Regions from separate parts of the Homo sapiens genome. Here regions 2, 3, 4, 5 and 6 are each linked to region 1. The links are contacts of gene promoters, found by promoter capture Hi-C in blood cells and fetal thymus (Javierre and others, 2016). All regions are on one chromosome and are shown on one strand. The core of a region is centred on a gene start or on the middle of the fragment in contact, and the rest is flanking DNA. Distances in the headings are between cores, read along the strand shown. Region 1 holds the start of LAMP2 (lysosomal associated membrane protein 2). Region 2 has its middle 8.7 kb from the start of RHOXF1-AS1. Region 3 has its middle 41 kb from the start of ZBTB33. Region 4 overlaps RHOXF1-AS1 (RHOXF1 antisense RNA 1). Region 5 overlaps RHOXF1-AS1 (RHOXF1 antisense RNA 1). Region 6 has its middle 120 kb from the start of C1GALT1C1.

The links. Contacts are between HindIII fragments. The CHiCAGO score rates a contact against its expected background, and 5 or more counts as called.
Region 2: a contact is called between a fragment that was not itself captured here and the fragment with the promoter of LAMP2 in region 1, in 2 of 17 cell types (M2 macrophages and M0 macrophages). The highest score is 5.9, in M2 macrophages.
Region 3: a contact is called between a fragment that was not itself captured here and the fragment with the promoter of LAMP2 in region 1, in 1 of 17 cell types (M0 macrophages). The highest score is 5.8, in M0 macrophages.
Region 4: a fragment that was not itself captured here is called in contact with the fragment with the promoter of LAMP2 in region 1 in 1 of 17 cell types (naive B cells); the score reaches 5.6 in naive B cells.
Region 5: a contact is called between a fragment that was not itself captured here and the fragment with the promoter of LAMP2 in region 1, in 1 of 17 cell types (naive CD4 T cells). The highest score is 6.0, in naive CD4 T cells.
Region 6: a contact is called between a fragment that was not itself captured here and the fragment with the promoter of LAMP2 in region 1, in 4 of 17 cell types (naive B cells, fetal thymus, total B cells and 1 more). The highest score is 10.0, in naive B cells.

The regions. Positions count from the first base shown.
Region 1 is chrX:120,467,842-120,470,618 of GRCh38, forward strand. LAMP2 (lysosomal associated membrane protein 2) reads right to left here and starts at 1,455. Exons shown (of 9, transcript NM_002294.3): 1 at 1,265-1,455. The coding sequence starts at 1,328. RefSeq lists a silencer at 1,393-1,657. The HindIII fragment of the contact is 7,034 bases long and covers 1-2,777 here.
Region 2 is chrX:120,025,988-120,029,062 of GRCh38, forward strand. No RefSeq gene overlaps it. Among named protein-coding and RNA genes, the nearest start is that of RHOXF1-AS1, 8.7 kb to the right of the region's middle. The HindIII fragment of the contact is 5,075 bases long and covers 1-3,075 here.
Region 3 is chrX:120,208,392-120,211,518 of GRCh38, forward strand. It overlaps the pseudogene EEF1A1P30. Among named protein-coding and RNA genes, the nearest start is that of ZBTB33, 41 kb to the right of the region's middle. The HindIII fragment of the contact is 3,168 bases long and covers 1-3,127 here.
Region 4 is chrX:120,092,663-120,095,506 of GRCh38, forward strand. All of the region lies in intron 1 of RHOXF1-AS1 (RHOXF1 antisense RNA 1), which reads left to right. Among named protein-coding and RNA genes, the nearest start is that of RHOXF2B, 16 kb to the left of the region's middle. The HindIII fragment of the contact is 341 bases long and covers 1,353-1,693 here.
Region 5 is chrX:120,146,230-120,149,152 of GRCh38, forward strand. RHOXF1-AS1 (RHOXF1 antisense RNA 1) reads left to right here. Exons shown (of 5, transcript NR_131238.1): 5 at 1-626. Among named protein-coding and RNA genes, the nearest start is that of RHOXF2, 11 kb to the right of the region's middle. The HindIII fragment of the contact is 3,196 bases long and covers 1-2,873 here.
Region 6 is chrX:120,751,110-120,754,135 of GRCh38, forward strand. No RefSeq gene overlaps it. Among named protein-coding and RNA genes, the nearest start is that of C1GALT1C1, 120 kb to the left of the region's middle. The HindIII fragment of the contact is 528 bases long and covers 1,364-1,891 here.

The DNA of each region.
Region 1 (2,777 bases), core at 205-2,704:
AACCTCCGCCTTCTGGGTTCAAGCGATTCTCCTGCCTCAGCCGCCCAAGCAGCTGGGATTACAGGCATGTGCCACGACGCCCGGCTAATTTTTGTATTTTTAGTAGAGACGGGGTTTCACCATGTTGGCCAGGCTGGTCTTGAATTCCTGACCTCAGGTGATACACCCACCTCGGCCTCCCAAAGTGCTGGGATTACAGGCATGAGCCACCACGCCCGGCCCCATCCAGCCATTCTTAGGCCCTGGTAACAACCCAATCCTTAGCAAGTTTGTCTACCTGCTCCCTGCACCCCCAAAATATGAGGTAATAGGCTAGCTGTGTGATGGGGAAGAAAGAAAAGAAGAAACTCTGAAGGCAAAGAGGTAGTCTACCAAACTCAAATACTCCACCCCCAAAACCTCACATCTGGGAGGCCCTCCTAACTGAAACGTCTGGGGATTTTTTTGTCAGCGTCTGGCTGGGAGGAAGTAGCAAAACTGGGAGAAAATCGACATCCTCAATACCTCCAAGTCAGATGTGCACTCCCCATCAAAGTTCCCCCTGAACCCCTTAGTCTCCAGAGGTTGGGTCCAAGTTTTCTTTCCTGGAAATTGCCCCAGCTACCTTAGGTTCCTTCGCCCTTAAAACTATGACTACCAAACTCAAACCCAGCATCACTCCTAATCTCTTGAATCATCCTTTCTTCACAGTCTCAAATTCCAACCTTCAAAATGCCCAACCCTGTCACTGCCCCTGCCCCTCAGGCTCTACTGTCCTATCTGTCCCATCTGTCCCCCACCCACACACTTCTCCCAAGCTACTCCAGGCAGGCATGGTCTTCTCTCTTAATTTCCTATCTCACCCCATAGTTTTTCCACCATCTTCAAAACTCTTCCCTGATCTCAGCAAACCAAGACTCTCCTAATTGTCTCTGGCGCCCAAAATCTGCATGTACCACCCTCCTACGCTCACTCCTCAGTGTTTTCCCCAAGTTACTCTTTCCACGCTGACCCTCTCCACGCTTCACTCCTCCCAGCCTACTCCCTCGGCGTCCACCCCCCGTTACCGGCCCCTTCTTACTCTCCTGGGCCCTTCTTCCCCGCCATCCGTCGGTCAGGCCTTCTCTAGGTCACCGCTTGCCTCCCCGGGCCAACCGCCGCCGCCCAGTGTTAGCTGCTGAGCCTCTCAACCCCCTCCCCCTCGGACCAGTCTTTCAGGTTGTAGCTTTGAACTGGTGCCCCGGGCCCAGGCGGACAGACTAATCGGGAGGGCCCGACAACTCACCCAGGACTAGGCAGACCAGAACGAGCCCTGAGCCCGGAACCGGGAAGAGGCGGAAGCACACCATGACCCCGCAGAGCAGGCGGCGACGGCGGCGACGGCGGCGGTACAACAACAGCTGCAACACCAGGGAAAAGGCTCGCTGGACCTGGGTCAAGAGCACTGATGACCACCGACCACAGCCTTGCAAAAGCCAGGAATCGGCGCTTCAGTGCGAGTCATAAGACTAGGGGCGGGGCTCTTTCTTGCTTACAGCCAATCTCCGCGCTTGAAAGCGGCGAGAGGGGTGGTGATGTAGCGGCCGGTGGGCGGGGCGACCACGCCCTGGCTTTTTGGTTCACAGCCCTTCCTATGCTCCTGAGAGATATGCGCGGACGGCATTTTCTTTTTCTTTTTCTTTCTTTTTTTTTTTTTTTTTTAATTTTACTTTAAGTTCTGGGATACATGTGCAGAATGTGCAGCTTTGTTACATAGGTATACATGTGCCATGGTGGTTTACTGCACCTATCAACCCGTCATCTAGGTTTTAAGCCCCACATGCATTAGGTATTTCTCCTAATGCTCTCCCTCCCCTTGGCCCCCACCCCTTGACAGGCCCCCGTGTGTGTTGTTCCCCTCCCTGTGTCCATGTGTTCTCATTGTTCAACTCCCACTTATGAGTGAGAACATGCAGTGTTTTGTTTTCTGTTCCTGTGTTAGTTTGCTAAGGATGATGGCTTCCAGCTTCATCCATGTCCCTGCAAAGGACATGATCTCATTTTTTTATGGCTGCATAGTATTCCATGGCATATATGTGCCACGTTTTCTTTATCTAGTCTATCATTGATGGGCATTTGGGTTGGTTCCAAGTCTTTGCTATTGTAAATAGTGCTGCAATAAACATACGTGTGCATGCGTCAAATGGTATTTCTGGTTCTAGATTTTTGAGGAATCGCCACACTGTCTGCCACAATAGTTGAACTAATTTACACTCCCACCAACAGTGTAAAAGCATTCCTATTTTTCCTCAGCCTCGCCAGCATCTATTGTTTCCTGATTTTTTAATAATCACCATTCTGACTGGCGTGAGATGGTATCTCATTGTGGTTTTGATTTGCCTTTCTCTAATGATCAGTGATAATGAGCTTTTTTTCATGTTTGTTGCTGCATAAATGTCTTTTTTTGAGAAGTGTCTGGTCATATCCTTTGCCCACTTTTTGATGGGGTTGTTTTTTTCTTGTAAATTTGTTTAAGGTCCTTGTAGATTCTGGATATTAGACCTTTGTCAGATGGGTAGATTGCAAAAATTTTCTCCCATTCTGCAGGTTGCCTGTTCACGCTAATGCTAATTTCTTTTGCTGTGCAGAAGTTCTTTTAATTAGATCCCATTTGTCAATTTTGACTTTTGTTGCGATTGCTTTTGGTGTTTTAGCCATGAGGTCTTTGCCCATGCCTATGGCGGACGGTATTTTCTAAGGCTAAGGAGAGAGGAGGAACTTTTGAGGGCCGTAGATAGTAGACTATTTCCGTTTTGGCT
Region 2 (3,075 bases), core at 11-2,510, 440 kb before region 1:
TGCTAGGGGACCCGGCGCACCCTCCACAGCTGCTGGCCCGGGTGCTAAGCCCGTCACTGCCCGGGGCCAGTGGCGCTGGCCGGCCGCTCTGAGTGCGGGGCAGGTTGAGCCCACGCCCACCCGGAACTCGCGCTGGCCCGCAAGCGCCTTACGCAGCCCCGGTTCCTGCCCGCGCATCTCCCTCCACACCTCCAGGCAAGCTGAGGGAGCCGGCTCCAGCCTCGGCCAGCCCAGAAAGGGGCTCCCACAGTGCAGTGGCAGGCTGAAGGGCTCCTCAAGCGTGGCCAGAGTGGGCGCCGAGGCCGAGGAGGCGCCGAGAGGGAGCGAAGGCTGCAGGGGCTGCCAGTACGCTGTCACCTCTCACTACCTTGCATGGATGGTGGAGCCATAGTGATTGGGTGACCATCCTGGCCTCACTGCCTGCTGTGTGACCTTGGCTTTTCTAATAATGTTCTTTGAGTATTTCAGATTTATCTCTGAGGTGAAATGTGCTTAATGAGGCCCCTGGAATCATTCTAAGACCCTTGTCCTTAGAAAGAAGCTAATGATCCTCTCAGTGTGTGGCTCGGAGGAAGTGACAAAATCATGACTTCCTGACATGATAAATGGTCCGCTGTTCTGTGGTCCAGCTTTCCTTTCAATGCTCAGTTGCTGGGCTGAAAAGACAACCATATTGACTCTAGAATGTCAGTTACAATGTCTGTCCTCACAAGGGAAGTCATGATCAAACTGAAACAAGCAAGGTGTTCCCATGCTAGATGCCAGAGACAGGTTTACCCGTGGGTGAATGATGCAGTTCTTGTCCATGGTATAGGATGGGATGGTGTGGTGTCAGGGGAGGGGGCAAGAGGGGCACTGGAAGTAAGAGAGTGGGAGAAGAGGAGGGGTCCCTGTCAAATTCCCCTCAATCCTGAGAGAGACACTTAGGAACAGAGTGTCTCTGCTCCCTCTGGATATTCCCGTGTATATTTTGAAGCCTGGGAGGCAGGATGGAGGACATCCTGCTGATGCCTGAAGGATGGCAAAGCAGAATAGAAGGATGCTCCCTTAACCCCATGACCGAGCCTCTGAATTAACCAGCTCCAGTGTTTAACCTATCTCTGGACTTATTTATTTTTTTATTTTAATTTCAACTTTATTAAAATACAGTGTCCCTTTTGATTTCATTTTTTTTTTTCAGAAGGAATTTCACTCTTGTTGCCCAGGCTGGAGTGCAATGGTGCGATTTTGGCTCACCGCAACCTCTGCCTCCCAGGTTCAAGCGATTCTCCTGCCTCAGTCTCCCAAGTAGCTGGGATTACAGGCATGCACCACCACGCCCAGCTAATTTTGTATTTTTAGTAGAGAGGGGGTTTCTCCATGTTGGTCAGGCTGGTCTCAAACTCTCGACCTCAGGTGATCCGCCTTTCTCAGCCTCCCAAAGTGCTGGGATTACAGGTGTGAGCCACTGCGCCCAGCCTACAGTGTCCCTTTTCTTGTGACAGTCTTTATCTAAAACACTGCAGCTGATCGCACACAAGAAAGCCCACCTGGGGAAAGTATTGGCCTCCCTGATTGGTGAACCATTTTTGCCAACAGCAGCAGGACAGAAAACATGAGAGTTGTCACAGAGACACAAATATGCTGAAATAAATAAAAAGATATCCCATGTTCATGTATTAAAAGACCTGATAGTGTTAAGATGGCAATACTGTTTAATTTGATCTACTCCCCAGATTGATTCAGTGAAATCTCTCAAAATCCCAGCTAACGTCATTTGGAAATTGACAAGCTGATCCTAAAATGTACTTGAACACTGAAGTGACCAAGAATTGCCAAAATAATCTTGAAAAAGTTAAACATTTAGAAGACTCACACTTCCTGATCTTAAAACACACTACAGAGCTACAGTAATCAAAACAATGGGATACTACCATAAGGATAAGCATATAGACCAATGGAATAGAATTTAGAGTCCAGGAATACACTCATATATGTATGGGTAATTGATTTTCAACATGGGCATTAAAGCCATTCAATGGGGAAAAATAATCTTTTTAAGAAATGGTTCTGGGAAAACTGGATATCCACATGCAAAAGAATGAAGTTGGACCCTGTATAACACCATATACAAAAATTAATTCAAAAGGAATAAAAACTTTAAGAGCTAAAACTATAAAACTCTTAGAAGAAAATATAGATGCAAAATTCATGACCTTTCTATAGTCAATGGATTCTTAGATATGACACCAAAAGCACAAGCACAGAAGAAAGATAGATAAACTGGACATCATCAAAATTTAAAACTTGTGTGCCTCGATGGACACTATTGGCAAAAAGTGAGGAGGCAAACCACAGAGTTGGAGAACAATTTTGCAAATCACACATCTGATAAAATATATCTAGAATATGTAAAGAATGCTTAAACTTGATAATAAAAAGACAATCCAGTTAAAAAGGGGGCAAAGGATCTGAATAGACAGTTCTCTACAGAAAGTATACAGATGCACAATAAGCACAAGAAAACCTGTTCAGTATCATTAGCCATAAGGGAAATACAAGTTAAAAGCACAATGAAGTGCCATTTCATATCCACTAGATGGCTATAATAAGAAAGACAGATAATACCCAGTGTTGGTAAGGATGTGGAAAAATTGGGACCTTCCTACACTACTGTGTATGTGATGTTGAAAAGCAATTTGGTGGTACCTATCAACATTTATACATTTAAAGATTTTTTAAAGCACTTTGCAAAAATAAGTAAAAGAACTTTGCTTTCCCTTAGCCATTCCACTCCTGAGTAGTATCCTACAGAACTACTCACATATATGCCTAAACAAGGCATGTACTATATTTATTGCAGCAGAATTGGAAAGTTTCAGTTAGACAGGAAGAATGTTTTAGAAATTTATTGCACAGCATGATGACCACAGCTAATAATAATGTGTTGTATGTTTCAGAATTGGTAAGAGTATATTTTAAACATTCTCATCACAAAAAATAAGTAGGTGAAGTAATGGATATATTCATTAGATTGATTTATTCTTTCTACAATATATACATGTATCAAAACATCACATTTTACCCCATAAATAT
Region 3 (3,127 bases), core at 298-2,797, 260 kb before region 1:
ATATCAGGCCTGCGTGCCCAAAGTTTATATGTCAGGCCTGTGTGCAAAACTTGAGTATCAAACCTGTGTGCCCAAGACCTAAGTCTCCCTCAGCCTAGGGGGTGGAGTGTAAGGTACATGGATGTGCTTTGGTCAAGGAATAAGCCGAGGTGGATATCCAGGCCTGCATGACTCAGTGAGTTTGGCATGCAGGTGCACACCTCTGCTTGTTATATAACCTGTTTGTGTAAGTTCACACTTGGCTCTATACTTGGTATAAAGGTATATTTGCCCTGCTAATGCTGTACAGGGCTGTTGGGGCTCAGCTCGGCTCAACATGGGTTAACATGGTAGTGGGTGCGCTGGTGCCCAGAGAAAGAGAGAGAGCCAAAACTGTCAGTCTTGCAGATGGACAAGAGGGAGCCAGGACACAGCTTGGCTTGCTCATGCCCAGAGAGAAAAAGAGTTAAGCTGCTGACCCTGAAGGCAAGGGAGAACTGGCTGCACAGCTGTGTGTGGGAGCCGCTGGCTCAAGCAGCCAAGACAGGGTGGCCAGTGTGAGAGAGCCAGTGTGAGAAAGCTGTTCATAAAAGCTGCTGCTGGCCGGGCGCAGTGGCTCACGCCTGTAATCTCAGCACTTTGGGAGGCCGAGGCCAGCGGATCACGAGGTCAGGAGATCGAGACCATCCCGGCTAACAAGGTGAAACCCCGTCTCTACTAAAAATACAGAAAATTAGCTGGGCGAGGTGGCATGCGCCTGTAGTCCCAGCTACTCGGGAGGCTGAGGCAGGAGAATGGTGTGAACCTGGGAGGCGGAGCTTGCAGTGAGCCGAGATCGCGCTACTGCACTCCAGCCTGGGAGACAGACCGAGACTCCGTCTCAAAAAAAAAAAATAAATAAATAAAATAAAATAAAAAAAAGCTGCTGCTGAATAAAACCATATTCACCTGCCTACAGCCCCCCGAATGTTCTTTCTGCTCATCCACCCACTCCCTCCGGACTTCAGCATGGGTTGGACCCGGACCCCAGGACCTGACACCCTGCTCCCACAATTGCATATGGTCTGATTCCTGTAATCATCCCTTATTGCTTTTCACTCTGCTTCTCTGATCAAACTCTGCAACTATGTTCAAGTGATTCTTATTTTACATCCAAATTTGCAAATCAGACACAGGATTATAGACATTACAAAAAAATTCAATTTTGAAAAAAAAAGGAAGAGATTTGTATATGACACTTAAGTAACCCATCTATTACCCTCGCTTTCTTTTTGATGTCAAACTTCTTTAAATGGCACCCTAAGTTTATTGCAAAAGTATTTTTCTTCCTCCCATTTTCTCTGCAGTTCCTTGAATATGACTCCTGCTTTTAAAATGCTATTTTAATTCATCAGAAACTTATAAAACATCAAATCCAGATCTTAGTCCACTTTATTTCTTTGTACTCTTAACACTGTTGACTACTCTCTTTTTTCCCTCATTAAATTTGGTTTCAATGGGTCTCAAATTTCTGTGACAGATTTTTGGTCAAGTTGTTTCCACTAAAAAGTGCTGATTTTAAAAATTAAATAACTTAAAACTACCAGATGCCAAAAAAAAAAAAGTTCACAAAACATTCTCCTTTCCTTCCAAAGGTTTTACAATGCATTGTTATCATTAACCAGTCTTTTACGACTAAACTTAAGTGGCCAGTTGAAACAAACAGTTCTGAGACCCTTCCACCACTGATTAAGACTCAGGCCAGGCACCGTGGCTCATGCCTGTACTCCCAACATTTTGGAAGGCTAAGGTGGGTAGATCACTTGAGCCCAGGAGTTTGAAACCAGCCTGGGCAATATAATGAGACCTAGCCAGGCATGGCGGCACATGTCTGTAGTTCCAGCTACTTGGGAGTCTAAGGCAGGAGGATTGCTTGAACCCAGGAGGCAGAGGTCGCAGTGAGCAGTGATTGTGCCACTACACTCCAGCCAGGGCAACAGAGTGAGAACCTGTCTCAAAACAAAAAACAAAAAACAAAAAACAAAAACACCAGACAACAACAACAACAACAAAAAAGACTGGGGTGGCATGTATTAGGGATAATATTCATTTAGCTTTCTGAGCTTTCTGGACAGACTTGGTGACCTTGCCAGCTCTAGCCGCCTTCTTGTCCTCTGAACCCATGGCAACTGTCTGTCTCAGCGAATTTGGCATGCAGGTGCACACCTCCACTTGTTATATAACCTATATAACCTGTTGTATAAGTTCATACTTGGTTCTATCCTTGGTATAAAGGTATATCTGCCCGCAAAATGTCCCAGAAGAGAATAGTCAGGATAGTCAGAATATTCAGAGAAGCTCTCAACACACATGGGCTTGTTAGGAACTATATCAGTCATGGCAGCACCACCAGATTTCAAGAATTTAGGGCCATGTTCTAGCTTCTTACCAGAATGGTCACCTTTTCTTTCTGCTCAGAACACTTGTAAGGAATTTGAGATGTGTGACAATCTAGTGCAGGGGCATAGCCAGCACTGATTTGGCCTAGATGGTTCAGGATAATCACCTGAGCAGTGAAGCCAGATGCTTCCATTGGTGGGTCATTTTTGCTGTCACCAGCAACATTGCCATGATGAACATCTTTGGCAGATGCGTTCTTTTTTTTTTTCTTAGAAAGAATGTAATGCATGTTTTTAATCAGAACAACAGCAATAACAAAAGCTAAGTATGGATATGCCAATGTAGTGTTGAATCCAGCAATGGACACAAATAAAGAGCAAATGCTTGACAGAGACAGCTGTAAATAATCTATGTACCTCTTACATCCCCCCACTTCATAAAAAAGACATTCTCTTTGGAAATATGGTTACAAATGTAAATCACTGATTTCTTGCAAGACCACGATGATTCTGTAATAAATATCAAATTGTTCCATTTCAGATTTGTAAAAGGATTCTTTCAGATATGAAGACTTGGGAGCAACTGTGAAGCTGTCTTTATTCAGATGCTTTGAAATATAAAGTGGTGATCTTAAACCACCAAGAACTGTAAGGCATGCTAACTGATGTTTATAACAACTTAGCCTTCTTTTCCTTTATATCCGATTTTATTAAGTGGGCAAACACCTTGTTCACATTGAGGCCCACATTGTCCCCAGGAAGAGATTCAC
Region 4 (2,844 bases), core at 273-2,772, 380 kb before region 1:
GACAAACCTCTCAGTGTTCCTTCTACAGATATCCAACTTTAGATACTGATAATAAGAATTAAATTAATAGCTTTCGTCACTTACTGAGTCCCTGCTCTTTACCTGCCAGGCGCAGTGTTAGACATGCATGCATTGCGTCTTTCACTTGTCACAGCAATGGTGTAAGGTAGATGTTATTCCTATCCTCACCTTTCTACCTATCTCCTACTAAGGCAGCACAATGTATCTCAGCTGATTTAAGGAGTTAAATTTAGGTAACATCAAATCAAGTAGAAGTATAGAATTTAAAAATCATCAGTGCAATTATTTGATAAAGCATAATGTCAACTCTGGAAGAAGGATAACTTTTAAAGTTATGAAGCAATAAAAAAATCAGAAAGAAAAATATGGACCACAAAACTAAGAAAAAGAGGAAAACAACAGAATGGGGAAATATTTGTAGTGAAAAACGTAAGCATTAGTTATTTTAAATGTATTTTTTAAGTTATTAAACATTGGAAGAATACCACCAAATGTCCAAACGTTCAGTGAAGAATAAAACAAATCACAGAACAAAAAGCACATAGAAGAGCCTTAAAAAAGGTGTTAACTTCACTATGCAACAAGGAACTATAAATATATTTTTAAATTAAATTTATATTTTATTTTATTATATTTTTGAGACAGAATCTCACTCTGTCACCCAGGCTGGAGTGAAGTGGTGTGATCTCGGCTTGCTGCAACCTCTGTCTCCTGGGTTCAAGCAATTCTTGTGCCTCAGCCTCCAGAGGAGCTGGGACTACAGGCACCTACCACCACGCCCAGCTAATTTTTGTATTTTTAGTAGAGATGGGGTTTCACCATGTTGGTCAGGCTGGTCTCAAACTCTTGGCCTCAGGTGATCTGCCCGCCTCAGCCTCCTAAAGTGCTGGGATTACAGGCATGAGCCACCAAGCCTGGCCTAGTTAGTATAAATATAACAGTGTCATTTCATACCTAATTAATAAATAAAGACAAGCTGAAAATGATAAAATACAACGTTCCTGTGGCTGTGGGGAAAAACATGTATTGCAAATGGCAATGATAATAACAATAACCAATATTGTGCCCACTTTCCTCTTGTGCCCACATCTCTGTGCAGAGGAACTACTGTTTACCCCATTTTGTAGATCAGATGACTGTGACTCAGAAGGGAGGGGTAAGTGGTCCCCCATCACACAGTTAGTATGGTGTTTTAGTCCATTTTTGTGTTACTGTAAAGGAACACCTGAGGCTGGGTAATTTATAAAGAAAAGAGGTTTATTTGGTTCATCGTTCTGTAGGCTGTACAAGAAGGATGACACCAGCATCTGCTTCTGGTGAGGGCTTCAGGAAGCTTCCACTCATGGAGGAAGGGGAGCAAGTGTATGTCAATCACATGGTGACAGGAAGGAACAAAAGATAGGGGAGGAGGTTTCAGGCTTTTTTAACAAGCAGATCTCAGGGGAAATAATAGAGTGTGAACTCACTCATTATACCAGGTCAGCACCATGCCATTCATGAGGGACTCAACCCCATGATCCAAACATTTCCTGCCAAGTCTCACCTCCAACACTGGGGATTAAATTTTGACATGAGATTTGCAGGGGACAAATATCCAAACTAGCCTAATAGAGCTTTGTTGAAGTTAAAAACGCTATGTTCCTTTTTTTTATTTTACATAAAACCATTTGGAAGCTTTTTTTTTTTTTTAAATAGAGATGATGTCTCACTATGTTGCCCAGGATGTTCTCAAATTCCTGGCCTGAAGTGATCCTCCTACCTCACCTCCCAAATCTCTGAGATTACAGGTGTAAGCCACGGTGCCTTGCTGATTATTTTTTAGAGGCAGAGTCTTGCTCTGTGGCCCAGGCTGGAGCACAGTGGCACAACTCTAGCTCACTACAGCCTCAAACTCCTTGGCTCAAGGGATCCTCCTGCCTCAGCCTCCTGAGTAGCTAGGACTACAGGCGCGTGTCACCACACCTAGCCTAAAAACCATGTTTTTAACCAAAACTGGATACTGTTTCTCATGGCAATATACAAGAAAAAAAGAAAAGGTTCAAACTCTTTCACTTATGTATTTCAGTTCTGGCATGTTAGCCCAAAAATGCTAATTTAGGCTGAGTGTGGTGGCTCATGCCTGAAATCCCAGCAATTTGGGAAGCTGAGGCAGGAGGATTGCTTGAGTCCAGGAGTTCAAGACCAGCCTGGGCAATATGGCAAAACCCTGGCTCTACAAAAAATTTGCAAAATTAGCTGGGCATGGTGGTACATGCCTATAGCCCAAGCTACACAGCAGGCTGAGGTGGGAGGATCACTTGAGCCCAGGAGGTCGAGGCTGCAGTGAGCCATGATTGAGCCACTGCACTCCAGCCTGGGTGACAGAGTGAAACACTGCCTCAAAAACAAAACAAGGCCAGGCATGGTAGCTCACACCTGTAATCTCAGCATTTTGGGAGGCCGAGATGAGCAGATCACTTGAGGTCAGAAGTTCAAGACCAGCCTGGCCAACATGGTGAAACCCCATCTCTACTAAAAAATACAAAAAAAATAGCCAGGCATGGTGGCACACACCTGTAAACCCAGCTACTTTGGAGGCCGAGACAGGAGAATTGCTTGAACCGGGGAGGCAGTGGCTGCAGTGAGCCTAGATTGTGCCACTGCACTCCAGCCTGGGTGACAGGGTGACTCCGTCTCAAACAAACAGAAAACAAAAAAGGAAGCAAAAGAAAGTTTAAAAGTAGCCATATGTACAAAGATGTGCATTCATTCAATTGATATCTGTTGATCACTCATTATGTGTCAGGAAACAACCTTAAGCAAATTACAAGATACGAATGCAGA
Region 5 (2,923 bases), core at 26-2,525, 320 kb before region 1:
AAGTTGGACTTCCATGAAAAAGGTTTGTGCAGATCTAAAACCTCTCATCTATTTCACTAAAAGGACTTCCCCTTCTAACTGTCACCCTTACCAATGTAACCCTGTCCTCTCTATCACCACCTCCACCTGTCTTTAACTAACTCTAGACCTGTCCTTAATTGCTTTTATGGTATTGGAATAGGAATTAAAAGAAATTAAAGAATGTGTAAGGAGAAACTCAGTTGTATGTAAGAAAACCCAATTCCCCCTGAGAAAGAGAAAGAGTTGGAGTCCTTTAAAAATTAACTGCCTGTTTTTCTGTGGCTAGTGAGCCTTATCTCTCCTCCTTTCCCAGACATTGTGAAGACCCTGTTTCTCTAGCTGTGCAGCTGCAAGGTCACTAGACAGATAAACTCAAGTTGTAAAACATGTTTTTCCTTGAAAAGTAAGAAATGCTGTAATGCATTTCTCAATTAATTAAATAACTGTCTTTGTTTCTCGCTTCTGTAATATGCTTCCCCCTGCACAGATCTCCACCCACCCTACAAAATGCTTAAAAGGTAACTTAACTCTTTGTTCTGGGCTCAGTCCTTTGGGCTGAGTACTGGGCCGGTGCACCTAAATAATAAATATCTTCCTGAACCCCATTTGTCTCTCTGATTCCTTAAAAAATCCCGCAACATTTCTGGGGACTCGCCTGGGATTGGAGACGACAGATTTACTGTCTCCTTTGCCTGTGGGGACTAGAGCCCAAGGACCGGGGGAGACCCGGCATCCAAGGTGTATCACAGGGGAGCTTCACCCAGACAGAGATAGGCTCTCCCCGCATCCCAGTGGCCTGCCCAGCAGTGCAATGGAACCGGGGATGGGGCTGCAGGAAGATACCAGCACTTCAGGAACCGCTGTAAGGAGCAAGGGCCCAAGGCATGAAAGCCCATCCCATAAGGATGAAGGGGAGCTTGGTCACCTCCCAGGGACCAACCAGTAATCCAACCTAGAGTGGCTGGGGGCGGCAGGAGTGGCTTGCCAATTTGGATGAACCTCGTGTCCCCACTAACAGTGGAACTGGGAAAAGGGAGAAAATGGGCCGATAGAGTGGCAAGTGCAGCAAGGTACAGCTTGCTGGCAGGGTGGCAAGAGTGGCTTGCCATCCCAACTGGGAGTGTGTGGGTGCATGTGAACCTACCTGGGACATGAGAGAGGCTCATTTTGTCCGATGAGGAGTCCTGGGGTAGGAGTGGTCTGTGTATGTGTGTGAATGTGGGAGCCTAACTAGGCTCACCTGGGACACGAGAGAGGCTTGTTTCATCCGATGAGGAGTCCTGGTGCAGGGGAGGTGTGTGAAAGTGTGAGAAAGAGACGGTCTCGGGAGAGGCCAATGTGGGGAGTGATGTGGGGAGGCACAGATCCCTCAGCGTGGGCTGTGTGCTCCGAGGCAAGTGTGGGGGAAATCAGACCTAGGACGCTGCATACGGCTGATCGAACCAGCTTCACAGCCACAGCAGGCTGTGACAGGGGAAGGCACATTCCTGGCTAAGCAGTGTCCAAAACTCCCGTAATAGGACCTGGTCTGGTGGACCCAAGGGTGAAAGTGAAAGGGAAAGTGCACCACAAGGGAGGAAATGGGAGGGAAAGCATTGAAATCAACTCCTTTGGAGTGCATGATATAGAATTTTAAAAAAAGATTTAGAGGTGATTATGGGATGAAACTGGATGCTCAAAAGCTAAGGACATAACTGTGAAATAGATTGGCCTGCTTTCAATGTGGGGAGGCCCTCCGAAGGTATAATAGGGAATTAACTGGCCATGTGTTTAAGGTGGTCACTGGAGTTGGAGGACAACCAGGATACCCAGACCAGTTTCCCTATATAGACTCTTGGCTCAATGTGGCACGAAGTCACCTCAAGTAGCTACAGCCCTGCCTAGAGGGATATTGCAAGGCATTAGTGTCTCATGTGGCCCAACCAAAGGAAGCAGAGGAACCTAAAGCCCCTAGCATCTCCCAGGAAAAGGAATCCCTGAAGCCTCAGCTGAAACCAGTTCTTCAGGCCCCACCCAAGGAAAGGGAATGTCCGCCCCCATATGTGCCAGTCTACCCATCTTTGACCAGAATAAGGCAGGAGGCAGAGTCAGGAGTGTCCGGAGAGTTGGGCTCAGAGGAAAGTGAGGCTCAGTCTCCCCCCACAGAGGACCAGAAGCCCCCATTATAAAAAAACAAGGAAGATGGACAGGGTGAGGCAGCTGGGTGCCTCTGCTCAGGCCGACCACAGGCTTTGCAGATGCCACTTTGAGAGACCAGGACACAAGTTTATGATGACCAGGGGCAGATACAAGGCGGCCCTAGGCTTTATGTTTATCAGCCTTTCTCCACTACTGATCTCTTAAATTGGAAACAACACACCCCCTCCTATATAGAAAAACCTCAGGCTCTCATTGATTTGGTGAATTCTACTATTATGACACATAATCCAACCTGGCCGGATTGTCAACAACTTTTGCTAACATTATTTAATACAGAGGAGCATAGGAGAGTTAATCAGGCAGCTCTCAGCTGGTTAGAAGGGGAAGCCCCAGAGACCACCCCTAACCCACGCCAGTTCAGCAATACCCAAATGAGGACCCTAACTGGGATCCAAATGAGGCAAGGGACATGGAAGGCCTGCAGCAATATAGAAAGGCACTCCTGAATGAGAAAAAAGCAGGAGTAAGGAAGACAATGAATATAAGCAAAATATCAGAAGTGTGCCAAAAGCCTGACAAAAGCCCAAGTACATTTAATGAAAGGCTTTGTGAGGCCTATAGGCTGTACGTGCCAATTATTCCAGAGGCTCCTGAAAACCAAAATATGATAAATATGATGTTTGTCGGACAAGCTCAGGGAGACATAAGACAAAAGCTTCAGAAGCTGGAAGACTTTGCAGGGAAAAATATTAGTGAACTCCTG
Region 6 (3,026 bases), core at 378-2,877, 280 kb after region 1:
ATCCCCCAACCATGCTTGGGCTCCGGTCCACCCTCCCACCTGCTCTATCATCCCAAGCCCCTGCTGAGTTGCCCGTGCACACCCAAGAACCCACCCTCCCTCTTCTCCTTTTTCCTTCCTTCCATTTGGCCAGTGGGGGTGGGAATTACTACCTTCTAAATCTGAATCTGAGCGCACACAGAAAATATGATGGGGGTCCCACTTTCCACAGGAGCAGTAAAAAAAAAGATAATCATAAATTCTCCCATGTTATTGAGTGCTGAACATGTGCTGTATCATTTACACGTGTTTGCTCAAGTAGTCTTCACGGGAACACTGGAGGGGGAAGTATTATTATTGTCCTCACTTGACAGATAAGGAAAATAAAGCTCACAGGGGCTAGATGACTTAACCCACCTATAGCTGGGACCAGAACCCATGCAATATAACTCTAAAGTCCATGGTCCATTGAAGGGCCCAGGAACTGAAGGTAAGTCTATTGAAGACAGAAGGTATTAAATGAGCCAAGGGTATGTAATTTCTAACCTCTCCATGGACTTCCTGCCTCCTCCCTGAACTTCTGAGCTACTCAGTGGGCACTTGTATTAGCCTCTCTTTAATGCAGAGGCCTTATCTCCATATCTGGTCTAGACTGCAAACTTATTGTGGATAAGCCCATGTGTTATTACTGTCTGTGGCACTCATAACTTTCACACAGCAGGCTCTTAGTAAACAACAAAGGCAATGACCATAGCATCAGCAGCAGGTGTTGGAGTCACAGAACTAGGTTTGAATTTCAGCTTTGATTTGAACTCGTTTTGTGACCACGGGCACTTTGTTCCACCCCTCTGAACCTGTTTCCTTGTCTGTAAAATGGGCATAATACAAGTACTTATTTCAGATGGTTGTAATTTACAAATGAATTCAAATGTAGTGATTAGAACAGTGCTTGGCATGAAATAAATATTCAAGAAATGTTAGCTATTTATTGTTGCTATTATTATTAGAATCCCTATATGCCACTTTAATATTCACTTTAAAAATATAATCTTATCACACTTGAACATAATAGGTGTTATTACTATTTTATACACATGTCTCAGAAAGATTAAGGTAACTTTTACACAGAGTGACAGAGTGAAGTTTTGAATCCTCGATGCTATTTCTGCTACATGAATTGAATGGTTTCGTCTTTTCTGAAGGAGTGGAATGGTGGGCTTCCTTGATTAAGCCATTTCTTTAATGAAATGCTTGACCAAGACCCTAACAGCCACCAAGCTATGGAGGATCTTACTCAGTTATCTCCAGAAACCTGGCCAGAGGGAATGGGGTGAGGGAGAAGCTGAAGGCAAGGTGAGGGGGTGTGTGTGCTGGCTTTCTGAGAAGCTTAGGGTTAGAACAGGGAGTTGAGGAAGGGCCAAAGTAGAATTAAATTCAAATGCAGGTGATTTCACTGAGGCTAAGAAAATGATACCCCCCTACCCTCCACCCCTCACAGCTGCAGTGGGGCCCAGCTTGCAGCTGGGAAGGCTTTTGCGTTTACTACTCACAGTTCTCTGGGAGCCAATGTTTGCTTCCCTTTCTCCGGGGTTTTGTGCAGGGAGAGGTGCAGAGCAACAATCAGAGACCAAATAACTTAATTCAAGGCCAAACAGATGCTTTTTTTCTTGAAGGTATCCAGGGGTATGATCTGCAACAGAGCTGCTCATCACCGCTCTCTAATTTTGGGGCCTCGTGTAGGGGAAGAGCTCATTCGCTTCTCTTGGGATGTGAGCCAGCTGGGATAGATGCTTCACTAAGAGACATGTGTGCACTTTGTCCTGATCTGAGCTCACTGTGAAGGGCCTTTGAACTCATCAAGCAATTCCAGGAAGTGGAAGATGATCAAAGAACACAAGAGAATCATGGTTTAAGCTTCTTTTAAAGTCGAGTTTGGATGTGCTGTGAAGAGGGAGGAGGCAGCTTTCTTGTCCACCGGCATCACATAAAGAGAAGAGCTGTGAATCCCCACAAAGAACCACTTGCACCATAAGTACCAGGGCAGGGGAGGCGTGGGGCTTGTAACATTAGATTATTGGGCCCTCCTCACACCCTCAAAATCAGAATTTGGTGGGGCGGGGGGCTGCGGGAGGACGGTGAGAGTAGGTCCCAGCAGTCAGCAATTCAAATAAGCCCCCAGGTGACTCTAATGTACTGGAAAGTTTGAGGACAACTAAGTTAAAGCATGGGACTTGGAGAGTTCCAACCCTGCTTCTACTACTTATCAACTCTGTGATCTTTGGCAAGCTATTTAACCTCTCTGAGCTTTAGATTCTTCCTTATAGAATGGAATAACCATAGTACCTCCCTCACAGTGCTGTGGGGAGGATTAAATGAGATAACATGTTCCCAATTAGAAATGGTAGTTATTAAATTTCTTCTCCCATTATGCATTATTTTTGTTTCTCCTTTTGAGTAGGAAATGCAAATTTATCTTTCTCCACTTGAAGCACACCACCCCCCGCCGCCCCCGCATTTTCCTTTCACCAGCAGGTGTTTGGCACGTCTAAACACTTGTTTAAAACCCTGTTAAAAACATAGGCAAAGCAGAGGCTCCATACAGTGGCTAAAGATGTTTACCACATGGATGGCACACCTGAGAAGTGCCTACCTGAGCAGTGCCCTTTTCAGATGATCTTCTCCTAACTTCCCACCTCCCTCTCCCTAAATTAAAACCTTTGCATCCAGTGTACTGTCTCTGTACGGTTCTTCTCTGTGTCAGGGCTAGAGCACCAATGAGTTAGTCATGCAGTTGCATAATTATGCAGTGTTATCAATCTCTTGTAAGTTTGGTGAATGGGAGTCGTCAAGAAGATCCCACCTCGCACCTGTGTGGGCTGGCAAAATACGGTTTTTCACCTCTAAAATGGAAAGCCAGCTCCTGGACCTAAGTCGGCCCCAGGAAAGCACTGCTATTTGTAGACACTGCCTCTCTGTCTTACCTCTTAATCATAGCACACTGAATACTGCCTCACAACACCGCTAGCTGTCCCTTTTGGTTTTTTCCC